Linked DNA regions of Homo sapiens: region 1 is linked to region 2. Evidence: promoter capture Hi-C in 16 types of primary human blood cells and fetal thymus (Javierre and others, 2016). All regions are on one chromosome and are shown on one strand. The core of a region is centred on a gene start or on the middle of the fragment in contact, and the rest is flanking DNA. Distances in the headings are between cores, read along the strand shown.

Region 1 (2,943 bases), core at 197-2,696, 570 kb after region 2:
CTCAGTTTAAACACATTCTGTTCGGAGTATCTCTATGACCTTCTAGACTAAGTCAGACCCCTGGTTTTATGCTGGTTTAGCAACCCGCCTTCAAACAATTTACTGCAACAATAACTAAACAATAAAATCAGTTGTTTAATATTTATCCCTCAAACAGTCTAAGGACAAGAACAGTTTTGCTCACCGCTGTATCCTAAAATAATACCCACAGAATAAACATTTGTTGAATGAATGAACAGAAGGAGCAGGGGGCAGAACTAAATGGAAAACCAAAGGCCTGCACATAAGAAGGGCTCATGTCAGCAGTGGCCTCCAGGAGGCACGGCGTCTTGCCCAAACTCCAGGAGGCACAGCGTCCTGCTCAAACTCTTGCCTTGGCAGTCCAGGCCCCTGGCTCATTCCCAACATCTGCCTACTCACCATATTCTCTGGGAACTGGAGCTGGCCTGACAAGGCTGGGCTGCTATTATAGCCAGAGGTCATGCCAGACGAGAGGCTTCCATTAGAGCTGGTGCACAGGGAGCTGGAATTGGCCAAGGTATGTAGTTTATCCTCTTCCTGGGAAGGACAAATCACCATTAACCAGCTTCTGATGCACCCTCACTTTCCCCAGGCCACGCCTTTTCCTACCCAAAGCCACCCCTTCCCTGCTCACCTCTACTGCTCCTTCACCCACCTCCCAGGGCCTCCCTGACTTAGCCTCACATGCCCTGGCTTCCTTAAAGCCACCACTGCTCGTATTTCCCCACACCCTGCACCTCACACCAAAGCCTCTTCCTCCCAGGCCGTGGCCTGGGGAAAGGAGCTGGTGTGATGATGTAAAAAGACAGTGAGCCCAGCTTTGAGTTGACAACAGGGGTCCCACAGCCTCCTCCAAATGTTACGTATGTCCCAAGACTCAGAGGCGGCCACGGTGAAGGTGTACCAGTCTGAGGTCCAGGCCTATCCTGAAATCAGAGGCATGCCCCACTCCACACCTTCAATAGCTGGGAAATGATCTTCTGGTGGATTCTCAGCTTCTCTTGTTCAGTCCGCTCCCGCAGTTGGTCTCGGGCCCGGGCAATCTCCACCTTGGCCTCCTCATGGGCCTGCTGGTAGTCTTGCAGCATCAACTCTATGTCAGAGGGTGTGTGAGCTGACCTTGACACTGACTCTGGGCTCCTGAGGAAGATCACGGGGTGGAAAGAACATGGTGGGTGGGTGACAGTCCTGGTCTGTCCATCCAAGGCTAGCTTGGGTGATACCACCTTCTTAAAAGACCCAACCTCCATTTGCCCACAGGGTTTTAAAGTATGATTTTTTAGCCTCAGGAGAGGTTGCTGGACAGAGAGAACCAAGCCACCTTGAGACCCAGGCCTGCAGACTTGCATAGCATGTCAGAGCCCTTCTGTCCATCATTTCCTGTGCCTTCTCTCTGCCCACCCCCTCCCTCATTCCATTCCCTTCTATGTCCTCTTTCCATTTACCCTGTCTCCTATAGAGAACCCTCCAGGATGCTAAAACTTCAGCTCCTGCTCCCCATACTCCCCTCCCCCAACAGAGCCTGCTCCCAGCAGGGTTCTCGGTCCACACTACCTGGTGGTCTCCACAACATCCTTCCTCAGTTGCTGCAGGTATTCTCGGCGTCTGCTGGGCAAGTCAAGATCCCAGATGAAGAGATCTTTGTTGGGCAGGAGGCTCAGTTGTTTCTGAGGGCTAAGGCTTCGCGTCCGGCAGAAGTTCCCAAGTCGCTCAGCCCGCTCTCTCCTGAGGGTCTCAATGGCCTTTTTTTGCCTGAGGCAAAACACGATTCGCTGAAGCTGGCCCTGAATGTCCTTCACTTTAAGATCTATCTCTGACCCCTGGAAGATCCCAGAGATGAACCAGGGCAGAGGAAACAGCAAGCTATTAGCTTTCTTGGGTTCTCTTTCCTCACAGCCCACCCCTTCCCCTCCCGACTCCAGGCTGGGGGTCCTTACCGTGCATAGAGCTCCTTCCAGGTGGATGTCACAGGTTCATCAGCAGCAAGCGCCTCCCCTGTCCCACTCTGCAGCACCTGGAGCAGGGCATCGGCCTCCCCAAAGCCATGGTGCAGTTTCGCTTCTGTGAGTTCCACGCTGAGTGAGAGGTTCTGGGCCCCAACTTGCAGGGGGATCTGCTCCCTCTTGGACCACTCAGAATCCTGGCTGTGGTCATTAGGAGGTTGTGGGGGACTCTGTTCCTGCTTTTCAGAGCTGAGATCACCGCTGGCCCCCAGCTCCTCCTCAGTCATGTCCAACCCCCCAGGTGAGCCCTTCTGAACCCCACACCAGTTACTAAATTTGTTATGCACCGGGAGGTCCCTCAGACTGTGGTGCTGGTGCTCAGGGGCCATGCACATCTGGCAACTGAAGCACAGTAACTCCTCAGGTTGGCAGGCCTGAGGGAGGCCCAAGGCAGAACCTCGGAGCCCTGCAGTATCAGTCAACTCAGAGACAGGGCAGGGGCTGAGGTGCTGGAGGCCTCCCCATGAAGAAGGTCGGTCCAGAGTGCGTTGTGGTTCCCCTGGAGATGCTGAACTCTCACCTCCATTTTCTGTCCTGCTCTGCCACTGACTTGGCTCCCTACCGCTCAGTGGGCAATGCTCCGGGGAAGCCACCTTCTCAGGCACAAAGCTGTTGCCCAGCCTTTGGCTCCTGTGCCTCAGTGGTGGTGGCAGCAGTCTGCTTTGGACCCCGATAGTTGTCCTGGGCTGAAGCTGCTGAGGGTGCTGCCCTAAGAAACTAAATTGGAGTTTTGGACTCTGCTGTGGGCTGTGTGGGGAGTGCAACTCAAGGAAGGATCTCCCATTACTCCTTTGTAAGGAACTTCTACCTCTCTGGGAGCCACCTAACTCGTCAGTGGTTTGGGAATAATTATCCATTGGAGTCCTTGGGGCATCAACAGGGTCTGGGCTGGAGTCAAGCTTCTGGTGGCCTTCAACAG
Region 2 (2,857 bases), core at 227-2,726:
GTGAAGTATACCAAGATGGCTGGGTGAAAACTTGCTCTAAAAACCATTGACTGGGTAGCTTTTGCAGAGATGATACCCCAAAACCAAAAGGCCATTGCTAATTATCTGAAATCCTGGAATGAGACCCTCACCTCCAGGCTGGCTACTTTACCTGAGAATCCACCAGCTATTGACTGGACTTACTACAAGGCCAATGTGGCCAAGGCAGGCTTGGTGGATGACTTTGAGAAGAAGTTTAATGTCCTGAAGCTTCCTGTACCAGAGGATAAATATACTGCCCAGGTGGATGCTGAAGAAAAAGAAGATGGGAAAACTTGTGCTGAGTGGGTGTCTCTCTCAAAGGCCAGGTTGGAGAATATGAGAAACAGCTGGAGAAGATGAGGAACTTAATACCATTTGATCAGATGACCATTGACGACTTGAACGAAGCTTTCCCGGAAACCAAATTAGACAAGAAAAAGTATCGCTATTGGTCTCACCAACCAATCAAGAATTTATAAAATTAAGTCCAGGAAGAAGCCCTGGCCCTTATAGTACACATTCTGGACATTAAAAATAAAAATAATTACATAGGTTTTAAAAAAGAGCTGAGTGGGGACAGAGAGAATTGAAAATACAGGAGGGAGGACAATGCTGGTGAAAGAGGTTCCCCAGGGAGAAGGACCCAGAAAGCAGGGGATGTGGGGAGAAGTGCCCCAGAGCACAGAAAGACAGGGTAGGCATGGGGGTCCCACCCACTCCACAGGCAGAGCCCTTCCCCCTCCTGCCCTCTCTCTCCTTCCACCTGCGCTTTTCTCCCTATGAAAGGGCTTGTGCCTTTCTTACTAGGATCAAGGCCCTTGCTCACCGGCATTCCCACCCTCTCACCTATTTCCACACCTCCTCCACAAATCTTCCCAATTTTTCTTCCTCTATTTTATTTGTGATTATTTGCTTTTATTTGTGATTTGTCTTGGACCTGCCAGGTCTCATGCAAGACAATGCCACTGCCAAAGCTAAATACAGTGAAATCATACCGAAGGAGATCCAGACAGAGAGGGTTCTGTTTGCATTTAATGTTCAGGAAGTGACTTTTCAGGATAAAAGAGAGGCCTTGGTTACCTAGCAGGGTTCTCGGCTCAATGAGGTGCTTTAAGCTGTGAGCAGAGTCTTGGGACCCTGATGCTCCTTCCAGCAGCCCCCTGCATCCCTCTGGCGGGCCCATCAGCTCGCTTCTCCCTCCTGACTTCTCCACCACAGCACAGCACCTCCCTGGGAATGCCCTATTGCTCAAGAGCTATCAAAGGCCCACACGGCATAAGGCTGTGACAGTTCATCAGCCTCCACACCTCCTTTCAATTCAGCAACACTGCCAAGAAAAACCTGAGGGCAAGTGAGCAAACCAGTTGTGATCTGCTCGGTAATCAGGTGGCAGTGCAGCAGTCCAGCCCCGCCTTCGGTTCTCCTGGAGGCTTCCAATGGAAGGGGAAGTAGACACTCTGGCACCAGTTTGCTGAAGCTCCAGACCGCCCAGCTGTTCTGTGGGGAGCATCCCAGGAACCGGAGGCAGCTACCATGGCCCAAGGTAGGGAAAGCCCCTGTGGCCACTGGAGTTCAGGGATAAGAAGGACAGAGAGAGACTGTAGGAAGTCAAGGGGTGGAGGGTGGATTCAGAGAAATAAAGAAGTAAATACAGAACTGAGGCAGGAAAAGCAAGAATCCCAGAAACCTCAGTATTCATTGGTGGCTTGAGAACCAGGAGACAGCGTAGAGGCAGACAGGTAAACACAGCACACAGCTGCTTGCTAACATGCCTGCCTCCATAGCCAGGTGGGACAGGGCAGGGCCAGAGATGAGGGGGTCAGGGTTTCTGTCCTTCTCTGCTACTAGCTGACCCTTTGACATTGGACAAGTCACTTCGCCTCTAGTTTCCAACCCCCTTGCCTGAAAAAGGAGGGATTGGACCAGACAATCTTGAAATTGTCTTCCAGCTCTTAAGTTCTCTGAATCTTCATATCTTCTCTTCTTCCTCCATTTCAGAAGGTCTATTACTGATCTTAGCTAATCTTCCCATCACCAACCTTCTCTCTATATCATCCCCCTCACTCTGGAAAGAGTTGCTGTGAAGATTAAATCGTTAGTTGAAATCATTTAGAGGAATAAGCTTTCAACTTCCTCTACAACTGTAACAACCTTACCTTTATTTATTACTTTTTGTGTTTAAATTTTTGTTTTAAAATTTTCATAACTTTTAATTGCACAAGAAATATGGGAATACATAGTTGGAGTAAAATAAATAAATAATTATAGATAAAGCTATAGTCCTCTGCCCGCCATCCCCAATGGCAGCCTCATCTCCAGAGTAAACACTGTTACCTGTCTTTTGTCTGCACATTTACACTCAGACATACATTTACTCAATGTAATACATAGGATTAGCATGTGTGGTCTTTTTTGGTATATCCATGGTATCATCATATTGTATGTATATTTCTACAACTTGATTTTTTTCACTCCACAGTATGTCTGGGAGCTCTGTCCATGCCAGTCAGTACCTATAGATCTACCTCAATATTTCTCATAGTATCAGTGCAAGTAATTTCTAATCCTGTCCCCTATTGATGGGCATTTAGGTTGTTTTCAATTTTCCGGTTACACAAGCAATATTGCAAGGAACATACTTATCCATGCCTCTGTGTGCTCACGTGGGAGTGTCTCTCTAGGATAACTACTAAGATCACTTACTTTAAAAGTTCTTTCTACAGTCTTCTGTTTATTTCCTGATCATCTCACCCCATTCTCCTCTCACCTCAAGGAAAACAAATATGCCCAGTAGTCAATGAACCTCCTATTTGAATAGATGGCACCTGGGCTGAAG

The links. The method cuts DNA at HindIII sites, captures the fragments that hold promoters and counts their contacts. A CHiCAGO score of 5 or more calls a contact.
Region 1: a contact is called between a fragment that was not itself captured here and the fragment with the promoter of TGM5 in region 2, in 1 of 17 cell types (activated CD4 T cells). The highest score is 5.2, in activated CD4 T cells.

What each region holds. Positions count from the first base shown.
Region 1 is chr15:42,693,358-42,696,300 of GRCh38, reverse strand. STARD9 (StAR related lipid transfer domain containing 9) reads right to left here. Exons shown (of 33, transcript NM_020759.3): 23 at 1,959-2,943; 24 at 1,576-1,773; 25 at 978-1,161; 26 at 421-558. Among named protein-coding and RNA genes, the nearest start is that of CDAN1, 42 kb to the left of the region's middle. The HindIII fragment of the contact is 2,958 bases long and covers 1-2,925 here.
Region 2 is chr15:43,265,547-43,268,403 of GRCh38, reverse strand. It overlaps TGM5 (transglutaminase 5), which reads left to right and starts at 1,476. Exons shown (of 13, transcript NM_201631.4): 1 at 1,476-1,564. The coding sequence starts at 1,555. It also overlaps the pseudogene ATP5PDP1. The HindIII fragment of the contact is 1,714 bases long and covers 432-2,145 here.